3 separate regions of the Homo sapiens genome follow, and all the other regions are linked to region 2. Evidence: promoter capture Hi-C in 16 types of primary human blood cells and fetal thymus (Javierre and others, 2016). All regions are on one chromosome and are shown on one strand. The core of a region is centred on a gene start or on the middle of the fragment in contact, and the rest is flanking DNA. Distances in the headings are between cores, read along the strand shown.

What was found. Contacts are between HindIII fragments. The CHiCAGO score rates a contact against its expected background, and 5 or more counts as called.
Region 1: a contact is called between the fragment with the promoter of TRPC1 here and the fragment with the promoter of RNF7 in region 2, in 3 of 17 cell types (total B cells, fetal thymus and total CD4 T cells). The highest score is 7.7, in total B cells.
Region 3: a fragment that was not itself captured here is called in contact with the fragment with the promoter of RNF7 in region 2 in 7 of 17 cell types (naive B cells, fetal thymus, naive CD4 T cells and 4 more); the score reaches 10.3 in naive B cells.

The regions. Positions count from the first base shown.
Region 1 is chr3:142,722,091-142,725,912 of GRCh38, forward strand. TRPC1 (transient receptor potential cation channel subfamily C member 1) reads left to right here and starts at 1,944. Exons shown (of 13, transcript NM_001251845.2): 1 at 1,944-2,641. The coding sequence starts at 2,470. RefSeq lists a silencer at 2,188-2,237 and an enhancer at 2,496-3,362. The HindIII fragment of the contact is 1,344 bases long and covers 1,271-2,614 here.
Region 2 is chr3:141,736,999-141,740,851 of GRCh38, forward strand. RNF7 (ring finger protein 7) reads left to right here and starts at 1,300. Exons shown (of 3, transcript NM_014245.5): 1 at 1,300-1,518. The coding sequence starts at 1,344. RefSeq lists enhancers at 843-892, 933-982, 1,093-1,772, 1,333-1,572, 1,773-2,451 and silencers at 1,073-1,332, 1,593-1,772. The HindIII fragment of the contact is 15,473 bases long and covers 1-3,247 here.
Region 3 is chr3:142,278,255-142,282,294 of GRCh38, forward strand. No RefSeq gene overlaps it. Among named protein-coding and RNA genes, the nearest start is that of GK5, 55 kb to the left of the region's middle. The HindIII fragment of the contact is 1,192 bases long and covers 845-2,036 here.

The DNA.
Region 1 (3,822 bases), core at 694-3,193, 990 kb after region 2:
AAACTATAAAAATTCTAGAAGATAACATCGGAAAACCCCTTGTAGACATTGGCTTAGGCAAGGATTTCATGACCAAGAACCCAAAAGCAAATGCAATGAAAAGAAAGATAAATAGCTGGGACTTGATTAAATGAAAGAGCTTTTGCATGGCAAAGGGAAGAGTTAGCAGAGTAAACAGACAACCCACAGAGTGGGAGAAAATCTTCATAATCTATGCATCTGACAAAGGACTACTATCCAGAATCTACAATGAATTCAAACAAATAATCAAGAAAAAAAAAATCCTAACAAAAACTGGGCTAAAAACATGAAAAGGGCTGGGGGCAGTGGCTCATGCTTGTAATCCCAGCACTTTGGGAGGCTGAGGCAGGCAGATCACCTGAGGTCTGGAGTTCGAGACCAGCCTGACCAACAGGGAGAAACACTGTCTCTACTAAAAATACAAAATTAGCCGGGTGTGGTGGCACATGCCGGTAATACCAGCTGGTCGGAAGGCTGAGGCAGGAGAATCACTTGAACCTGGGAGGCGGAAGTTGCGGTGAGCCAAGATCACGCCATTGCACTCCAGCCTGGGCAACAAGAGCAAAACTCTGTCTCAAGAAAAAACAAAAAAACATGAATAGACAATTCTCAAAAGAAGATACACAAATGGCCAACAAACATATGAAAAAATGCTCAAGATCACTAATGATCAGGGAATTCCAAGTCAAAACTGCTATGCCGTATGTACCACCCTACTTCCGCAAGAATGGCCATAATCAAAAAAATCAAAAAATAATAGCTGTTGGTGTGGATGCGGTGAAAAGGGAACACTTCTACATTACTGGTGGGACTGTAAACTAGTACACCACTATGGAAAACAGTGTGGAGATTCCTTAGAGAACTAAAAGTAGAACTACCATTTGATCCAGTAATCCCACTACTGGGTATCTACCCAGAGGAAAAGAAGTCATTACACGAAAAAGATACTTGCCCATGCATATTTATAGCAGCACAATTCGCAATTGCAAAAATGTGGAGCCAACCCAAATGCCCATGAATCAATGAGTGGATAAAGAAACTGTGATATATATATATATATATATATATGTGGTATATATATATGTGATATATATATAATGATGGAATACTACTCAGCCATAAAAAGGAATGAATAAATGGCATTCGCAGAAACCTGGATGGGACTGGAGACTATTATTCTTATTCTAAATGAAGTAACTCAGGAATGGAAAACCAAACATCGTATGTTCTCACTCACAAGTGAGAGCTAAGCTTTGAGGATGCAAAGGCATAGGAATGACACAATGGACTTTCGGGACTCGGGGAAAGGTTGGGAAGGGGGAGAGGGATAAAAGACTACAAAATTAGGTTCAGTGTATACTGCTCGATGATGGGTACATCAAAATCTCACAAATCATCACTAAAGAACTTACTCATGTAACCAAACACCACCTGTTCCTCAAAAACCTATGGAAATAATATGGAAATAAAAATTTATATATTTGTATAAATTATTTAAACATAATATAATTATATATCTATATATCCTTTATAAATGAGAGTTCATTTCCAGCCTAAAATGAGTACAACATACAAACCCACGAGTCTGGCTCTCCATTGTGCTTTAAAGCATAGTGCACCAGAATATGAAATAGCTGGACAATTCCACAAAGGATTTCGACTAAACATTAAGTCGTCAGAGACTCAATTAACATACTGCTCCATATTTGCTTAATTACCTTAAACCAGTACCCTGGGTGTGGAAAGGGACGATTGAGCGAAGTCTTCCTCAGACTGCGGTTCACCTCACCAGAGCGAAGGAAGCTGCAGCGGGCTCCAGGAGCCCAGTGCGTCCCCACCGCAGGCCCCACCCACCCACGCCCCGCTTGCCGCAGGCCCCGCCCACCCAAGCCCGCCCTTGCCGCAGGCTCCTCCCTAGTGTCGTCGCTACAGAGGAGCAGAGGATGACGTGAGGACAGAGTCGCGAACATCTCCTCGGAGCGCAGCTGGGCCAGCGGTTCCCACAGCCCTGGAGCCCAACGTGCGCAGAAGCGCCTCTTGGAGCTCCTCTCCCACAGATCTCTCGTCCTCTTCCTGGGCTAGGCCGCCCCAGGCGCGGCCCCTGCGACTCCTGGCACGGCCCCGTGCTCGGCTGCCGCCCTGGCGCGCGCCACACTGTCGTCCCCGGACGGGCGCGGACCGGCTCGGCCGGGGCGCCGGCGGCTGGGGAGGGGTCGCTGGCCCCGGGGCCGCGCATGCGCCGCCACCAACTTGGGGCTGTCAGTGGAGGGCGAGTGCTGGTTCTCAGGGGAGGCGACGCCCTTCGGGGCCAACGGGCCTCGAGCCGAGGCAGCAGTGGGAACGACTCATCCTTTTTCCAGCCCTGGGGCGTGGCTGGGGTCGGGGTCGGGGTCGGGGCCGGTGGGGGCCCCGCCCCCGTCTCCTGGCCTGCCCCCTTCATGGGCCGCGATGATGGCGGCCCTGTACCCGAGCACGGACCTCTCGGGCGCCTCCTCCTCCTCCCTGCCTTCCTCTCCATCCTCTTCCTCGCCGAACGAGGTGATGGCGCTGAAGGATGTGCGGGAGGTGAAGGAGGAGAATACGCTGAATGAGAAGCTTTTCTTGCTGGCGTGCGACAAGGGTGAGAGTTAGGCCCCTTTCTCCTCTGGACGCCCCTGTCCTCCAGACCTTTAGTCCTCTCCCCCGCCTCAACTTATATCGGGGCATTCCCTCTGTCTCAGGCGCCGAGTGTCTTCCCGCCTCGCCTGCTGCCTCAGGCGGTCTTCTCCTCACCGCCTCTGCCCTGTGAGTGTGGAGCTGGCGGGAGAGTGGAGCTGGGGCTGCGCCCTCGGAGCGCTGCACCGTCGGGGGTGGCTCTGGCCTTGGGGTCCGGGGTTTAGGTAGCGCCTTGGGAGCCCCGACCCCAGCGTTTTAGCGCCGCCCTTGCTACTGACCGCATGAATGACCTGGTCTTCTCTCTGGCTCGCAGTTCATTCCTTCCGGGAGTCGAGAGGCTAGTTTCCGACACTCCAGTCGGAAAATTCCGTCACCTTACCTTAGGATGCCTCGTATGGAGGGTTCTCATCACCTGGTTTTTGTTTTTCTTAAAAACAAAACCAGACCCTCTATTATTTAGCTTCACCTGACCAGTGCTTTAGCCAGTGACTGTTGACTGGCATTAATAACGGAATATCCTAGGTGGAGATACATGAAGTAAGGACGGGACGGAAGAAATTCTGCCTTAGTTGCCAAAACTTTCTCTGGATTTACGGAACGCCTTTGATTGTTAGTGCTTTTTATTGGAGAGAAAGATTTATTGCTCCCAGATCTTTCTTTGGGAGATAAAGATAGTGAAAAATAATTACAGGAATTACAAGGCAAAAATATGTGGAATATATTTAGCGCGTTATCCTTTTTTTAGTCTAGAAGTTAATCATTTTTATGGCCATATTAAGGCCATGTCACGCAATCATCCTTTGTAGTGATGTATATAACAAAAGGGATAGGAAATTGATTGCCCTAAGACTGCTTTTGTTTCCTACATGGAAACACTAAAATTTTTCTTTTTCCAAATTTATATGGCTGTACACTTAGGAAAACTCTGTTAGAAACATGCAAACTTCTGGAACAAACCCAAAGGGCAGTTTACACTATGAAAAGACTAACTACACAGGATTTTTGTTTGTTTGTTTGTATGTGTGAATGTGTAATTAATAAATGACAGCCTTCCTAACCTCTCCTCCTGCTTTTGAAATAGGATTTTATTTACATGATTTTTTGAAAACAATTGACATATAAACAAAGTCCACCTATGTCTGTGGT
Region 2 (3,853 bases), core at 50-2,549:
AGGTATCAGGAAATGAGGGGATGGGGAGAGGCTCAGAATCCAAACTTGACAGAGTAGCTGTCCACCACTAGGTGATGGTGGGGTCAGGCATCTCCTTAGGCTGGCTGTGCTTCTGTTTTCTTTTCAATGGAGATACCGGCTTTCTTGGAAACACATGTGATGGTGGGCTAGCCGTAGAAGCACTACTATAATAACGATGTGATCTTTGTCATTTCACTTCTTCAGACCTCATTAGTCCTACATATAAAAAGAGGAAGTTAAACTAGCTCAAATGTACTGAGCAGAAGGAATGGAGACTGTGCAGCTGAGGGAGCGGGGCCTGAAAAATAAGTGTGGGTTGTGTCGCCACACACCGGGACTCCTGGGATCCCGACCTCTTTTAGCGGTCAAAAGAGGGCAAACTAGTTGCCTAACAATATTTAGAGCTATTTCTCTCTTTTCACTCTCATTCTACGAGTGTACACCGGAGTTTCTAGCAACTACATGGTATGTGAAGTCATCCCTCTAATGATAACCTGTAATGAGGTTACTACTGTGATTTTTAATGAATACATTTTAAAATGTTTTAATTTCTTCAAAAGCAAACATTAATCTCTACATATGTGTGTATACATATACAGGAAATGTATGTATATATGAATATACATATATTCATTGTATATGTGTATATATATTCATACATAATATGTGTGTGTGTATATATATATATATTTACACATTTCCTACATAAATAAAAGTTCTTTAAGGTCCTAATAATTTTTAAGTGAAAAGGAGTCCTGGGACCAAAAAGTTTTGAGAATCACTGAACCAGATTTCTAGATCTTTAAGATCATTTATTCACTCAACAAATAATTGTGCCTCCTGTGGCCAGGCATTTTGCAGATACGGAGGATAATGTGGTGATAGCAACATGTTTCCTGCTCTGATAGAGTTTTACATTTGGGAGGGAAGAGACAAACGAATAAATTAACAAGATAATTTCTGAGAGCAGTAGGTTTAATGAAGCCGTAAAGCAGGACACATATCCCTGCACAATCTGTGCGCCTGCTCAGACGTAACACCCCGCAGCGCAGCAGGCAGATTCAGCGGCGTCGCCCCATAAGGGCCCGAGCCCTCTCAGTTGGCCTAGGACGGCGAGGGCGGGGCCTGCCCGCCCCCCTGGCGCTGGCGTCAGGTGACGTCACTGTGCCGCGCCAGCCAATCGTGGGCAGCCGGGGTCTAGGCACCACGGTGGCTGGCGGCCTGCGGGCGGCGCTGTGGCCCGTCGGGCGGCTCCACAGAGCCGCCCTAGCCTTCCGCCTTCCCCAAGCCAACGTCTCCGCCGTCGGCTCCGCGGCGCCGCCATGGCCGACGTGGAAGACGGAGAGGAAACCTGCGCCCTGGCCTCTCACTCCGGGAGCTCAGGCTCCAAGTCGGGAGGCGACAAGATGTTCTCCCTCAAGAAGTGGAACGCGGTGGCCATGTGGAGCTGGGACGTGGAGTGCGATACGTGCGCCATCTGCAGGGTCCAGGTGATGGGTAAGCGCTGCACGCGAGTCCAGGGCCGCCCTGCGGCCTCCGGGAGCCGACCTCGGGGTTGGGAAGGGACGGGCGTCCGTCAGAAGCCTCGGAAAGTGCCCTGCCTGGGAGAGTGGGTGGAGGTCGCCCTGCCCCGGCGCCGGAGGAACGCGGAGCCACGCTCCTGCTGCGGCTCCTGAGGGCTGCGGCCGCCGCCTGGGGCTGCGGGGTTGTGCAACAGGCGCCCTGCGCCGGGTGGTTGGTGTTCTAGGGAGAGAGACGGGCAATAAACGGAGTTAAACAAGGTAATTTCAGGTAGTGATGGGTGTGACCAAGAAAGTAAAACCGGGTGATTGTTGGGAACTAGCAGGAAACACTTCGGTTTGTGTGTCCAGCCCCAGCCCCACCTCTAAAAGCTCAACACAAGGTGGTCAGGGTAAAGGCCGTGATTCAGCAGTGAACTTTAATAGTCTTGGTCACCACCAAAGTGATGCTCCAGAGTCATCTTCCACAAAACGACACCCTTAGTTCTCCTCGAGGGACGCAGGAAAGTGTTCATAGCCATTGCATTTCCGGATTAGCTTACCGCCGCTCTTCGAATGGCTTTTAAATCTGGATTGATTTAAGACGGGTCAGATAGCACTAGCGTGGCTTGAAGGGAACAGTGTGGTTCAAGAATATCTAAGTTTCATGGAAGCTGAAGAATTGTAAGCCCTTTTTTCAGAAACGTAAAACTTCACCTCCATCACACCCCCCTCTCCATATTGGATGCCATTTCCTGGAGAAGATACTGTGCTGCTCTGAGTCATGCCTTTGTGGAGAACCCTCTTACAAATATGTCTTCTTTCTGTGATATTTTGAGTTAAAATATTAGACCAAGTGAAACTTTTCAGAACAGCTTAATCTTGTTATATTTTATATGGTTCTAAGAACTCAGACCACTTTGAAAAGCAGGTGCTATTTAAATGCAAGTTGTATTTTCAGATAGGGCATTTAAAATTACTATGAGACCCTCTTCAGTGGAATTCTTTATTGAGGGTAGTTAAAGAAAACGGACATTTCTATCGTTTGAAAACTGTGACTTGTCTTGAAAAATGAGAGAATTGGAGAACATACAGAGAATTGCTCACCTTAAGGGGGGTGAGACTGTAAACATACCAGAATCAAGAGATTTCGCAGTTTATGCTCTTTTGTCTTTTATTCCTAAGGGCTTGTTTCAAAGAGGATTTACAACAATTGGATTCAGATATTTTTATCTTTCTCTTTTGAAAGACCTTGATATTAGACATGACCCACTTATTTTACATGGATCACTTGAGCCCAGGAGTTTGAGACCAGCCTAGGCAACATCGCAGGACCCTGTCTGTACAATTAAAAATTAAAATAAAAAGCTGACCAGGCATGGTGGCCTCCAGCTACTCTGGAGGCTGAGGTGGGAGGATCCCTTGAGCCCAGGAGGTCGAGGCTACAGTGAGCCTTGTTCCTGCCACTGCCACTGCCACTATACTCCAGCTTGGGTGACAGAATGAGACCCTGTCTCAGCAACAAACAAACAAAACATATGAGGCTTTAAAAGTATCTAGTTTATTTGCCAGCAATACAGCTGCCCCTACCCCCACTTAGGAATCATAATTTCTAGTTTGGGAAGCATTTTTAACTGATCCAGGAGACTCTTTTTTTTTTTTTTTAAGACAAGTTTCGCTAAACATTTTATCTCCTAAATAAATTTCCTTTAGTTTAAAGGAAACTAAGCTTTCACTTAGTTCCTTTCCAGTTTAAAAATAATGTTCCCAAAGGGTATTTTCAAAAGATTTGTCTCCCAAAAAGCTATTTCCTCCCCAAAGGAAAAACATTTAAAGAGTAAGTGGAAATGTATAACCTGAAATAATGATTGAAACTTTGCAACAAATAAACTTTACTGAGAGATTTTAATGTAGGTCAAAGTATAGACTATAAATGACACATTTCATCATAAACTTTCTAATTATAGCAAGTATTCTGCTACTACAGGATCAGTCTTGCATATTTACAACAGCTGTACTTTGGGTTCAGGAAATTATTCTAGGCTAGACCTTTGTATTTTGTTTATGAGGTGTTAAAACCCACTTAGAGGTCAGGTGACAGCAGAAGGAAATTTTTTTTCCAGACTTCCTAGTCCTTACCCTAGCATCATTCTAAAAGGTGTTATTGTACTCCTTAGAAATGTGCTGTTTTAGATTCTAGGAAGATCATTAAAGCAATTTTTTATCTTTTATCTGAAACTTTAGGAATTTGTGTAGATTTGGGTCAGTTTTGATAATCTACATCAGAGCTATAAGTGTAATTTAGAGATTCCTAAATTCAGCAACAAGAACCC
Region 3 (4,040 bases), core at 191-2,690, 540 kb after region 2:
TGGGAAGTCATCCTTGAAGTCTTCCTTGATGTTAATCTGGATTCTTGACAAAGTTCTCCTGTACCTTCTTTTGAAAAAGCAAATGGTTTATTTTTAAATTTAATTTTTATTTTTGGAGACAGAGTCTCATTCTCTTGCCCAGGCTGGAGTGCAGTGGCGTGATCTCAGCCACTGAATCTCTACCTCCCGGGCTCAAGTGATTCTCATGCCTCAGCCTCCCGAGTATCTGTGATTACACTAGTGTGCCATCATGCCCAGCTAATTTTTGTATTTTTAGTGGAGACAAGGTTTCACCATGTTGCCTGGCTGGTCTCAGACTTCTGACCTCAAGTGAGCTACCACACCTAGTCAGAAAAGCACATAGTTTTGCTAGTGCTCCCCACTCATGCAATGTGGCATAATAGTTATTCTTTGACATTCTAAGCAGAGCAGATGACTCAACACGGTGCTCCCAGGAGCTCTTCCAAGATTAAAATATTTCCATAGATGGATAGATGAATGGATATATAATAAAGCAAGTACAGTAAAATGTAAGTGGTAGAATCTAGGTGGTGGGTACATGGATGTTCATCTGATAATATTTTAAACTTAGATTTATCTATTAGAAAATTTTCATAATAAAACATTGGAAAAAAGAAAAAAGCCCTTAACAGTGCCTGTTGCTGTCAGTGGCTATTATCAGCTAAGACCTTTAGCACTAAGAGTTAAGAAGAAATTACTTAGGCAGATATTGAGGGTATTGGTAAGGTTTTCCTTTTAATAAAAAGCAGCCCTCAAATCATTTTCTTTTCTAACAAAGAACAGCCTGTAAAATTGAGCTACAGACATGGACAAGCAAGCTGGAAGCTTGCACAGGTGAATGCCAGCAGTTGTGCCAATAGAAAAATACTATGTGGGACTAGGCAAGTTCAAAATGGTGGCTCCATCTTCCCTTCTCTTTGTCAGTCATGTGTATAGTAAGGAGCAGACAAGATGGCGCTGGCCAAGTGGAAAGCCCATTTCCATAATAAGATTAGGGTGGGGAAACCAGCCTTCCCTGTGGGCTATGTAAACATCAAACCTGATTGAACGGATCAGTGGGCTTTACCAAGCCTGCCTATAAAATCTGCTATGGTCTGCCACTTTTCCCTTTTTCGGACACCTCTCTCTCACAAGAAGCTGCTCTTCTCTCTCCTTTCTTCTGCCTATTAAACTTTCTGCTCCTTAACCCACCCACATGTGTTTGTGTCCTTAATTTTCTTGGCACGAGACAATGAACCCTGGGTATTTACCCTAGACAACAATGCCGCTTCATCTGGGGGCTCATGCAGGATCAGAACCAAAATGGAAAGTATAAACATCAGAGCAGTAAGTGTGGAGCAAACCTCAAATCTGACCTTTAATATCAAGGCTCTCAGACTCCATTTAAAAATGCTTCAAACCAGTTTCCTTTCATGGAACTCAATCGCTTAGTTCCTCTGGTTCCATGGCTGGGGGGGTCACACTCCCAGCCATTGCATGGGGCTGGGAGAGGTCCTGGAGCAACTAAGGATTTCTGGCCAGGGCACACCCTGGTGTTATCCAGAGGCTTCTGGGTTGAACCCAGCCTTTGGCCACCCATCTGAGTGCTGGCAAAAAGGATCTCTAGCTATCCTGTTACAAAATTTTCCTCCTCTTCTATCCATGGTCACCATGTCTCCTATTTTCTCTGCATGCAATGTGCAGGAATTTTTATAGTTCAGGGAAGTAATCCTGTTAGGAAAGATCAGGAAATGCTGTAGTAACTGGAATATAGCTCAGGGGAATGCCATTGTGATTTCCTAGGAACAGAAAGTCTTCTCCCACAGTGAGCATTTCACCCTCTGCCCTTGATCTGGAAAGCACATGGCATCTCCAGGTCACTCTCTGCCCTTGAGCTGGAGAGCACGTGGCATTTTAAGGTCAATATCGCCACCTAGTGAACTAAAAATCATCTCCATGAGGCGTTGTCGGTCCTTTGACATAACACTGTACCTTCCCACTTCTTCTCCCATTTTGCACCTCTCTACTAGAGACCAAGCTTTATGCTGCTTCTGTGGATGGGAAAACTCTGCATTCAACAATTAGGAGCAAAATGTCCTCCAGAACCAAATTTTAGTTCCAATACTGTCCCATCAGCAGGAAAATCACTATTAGGTCCCTATGTTCCTTTAAGTCACCTATTTATGTCTCCAGTTAAAGCAATACTTATTAAGGGGATTTTAAGTCCAGAAGTTAATGAGAACCATTCTCTAGGGGGAAATGCTTCAGCATGGGCCATAATAGCAAAATATGGAGTTCAATCTAATACCCTCCAAAGGCAACGACCTTTTTTTTTTTTTTTTTGAGATGGAGTTTTTGCTCTTTCACTCAGGATGGAGTGAAGTGGTCCAATCTTGGCTCACTGCAACCTCTGCGCCCTGGGTTCAAGTGATTCTCCCCCCTCAACCTCCTGAGTAGCTGGAATTATAGGTGCCTGCCACCAAGACAGGTTAATTTTTTTTTTTTTTTTTGAGATGGAGTCTTGCTCTGTCGCCCAGGCTGGAGTGGAGTGGTGTGATCTCGGCTCACTGCAAGCTCCACCTCCCAGGTTCACACCATTCTCCTGCATCAGCCTCCCAAGTAGCTGGGATTACAGGCGCCCACCACCACGCCCGGCTAATTTTTTTTTTTTTTTTAGTAGAGATGGAGTTTCACTGTGTTAGCCAGGATGGTCTCGATCTCCTGACCTCGTGATCCGCCCACCTCGGCCTCCCAGAGTTCTGGGATTACAGGCGTGAGCCACCATAACCGGCCTAAGACTGGCTAATTTTTGTATTTTTAGTAGAGATGGGGTTTTGCCATGTTGGCCAGGTTGGTCTCGAACCAACCTGGGTGACTTCAGGTGACCCACATGACTCAGCCTCCCAAAGTGCTAGGATTACAGGCATGAGCCACTGTGCCCAGCTCCAAAGGCAACTATTACGTAGTCCTTCCCAATATCCATTTTTCAGGGAGGCACACAGATCACACAAGTCTAGGAAGTCAAAGGGAAATCACAGGCAGAGGACTAGAGTCACATGGGTAAGCGTGACTAATCTCAATTGCTTAGTTCCTCTGGTTCCATGGCTGGGGGGCGGTCACACTTACAACCATGGGTGGCGTGTTCAACAAGGTGCCAGGACCTAGGAACCAAGGAGGGAAAACAGCAGAGAGGACGCCCCCATTGTCTTTTCCTCCACACTTGGTCACACCAAAAGGAAGGAGACAAAAGGGATGCCTTTTTCTTGCTTCTCTTTCTAAATGGGTAACAAACCATCTTCAGCTTGCACCCCTCTGGGGTGCATCCTGAAGCACAGGGACTCCTTTAACCCTGAGACTTTGAAGGAAAAGTGGCTCACTTTCTTTTACACAAGGGCATGGCCTTCTTACTAGACCTTTGCAAGCATTGCACAATCAACCCAGCTCTTGTAGTAGTCATATCAGACAGGCCTATAGAGAATGATTCCCCAAAATTGGAGAAGCAACTTCTGGGGGAACCATCTGAGGATCCCCCTAACTTGGGGCCCCCTAAAGTTCCCTTATCATTACAGGACCTTAGGTAAATAAAGGGAGACTTAGGCCGATTTTCTGACAACTCTGATAGTTATATAGAAGCTTTCCAAAATTTAACTCAGGTGTTTAACCTCTCATAAAGTGATATTATGCTGCTCCTAAACCAAACCCTAACCGTAGCTGAAAAACAGGCAGCTCTGCAGGCAGCAGAGCATTTCAGAGATGAGCAATATGTTTCCTACAGCAGGCCAAAAGGGAAAGGAGAAAATAGAGAATGTGAAGAAATAGGGGAAACACCATTCCCAATAGGAAGAGAGGCAGCACCTCTTGACAATCCTAATTGGAACTCCCAGACTTTTCTGTGGTAATTTTCCTTCTTTCGTTGTTTAAAATGGCTTCTATCTCTTCTTTTATAATGTTCTTCCAACCTGGGAAGAGCTAATTTCCTCAAACCTTAAAATGCTTGGCTTAGAGTTGAGCTAGGGGTAAAGGAACCCAGAAGCCTGACA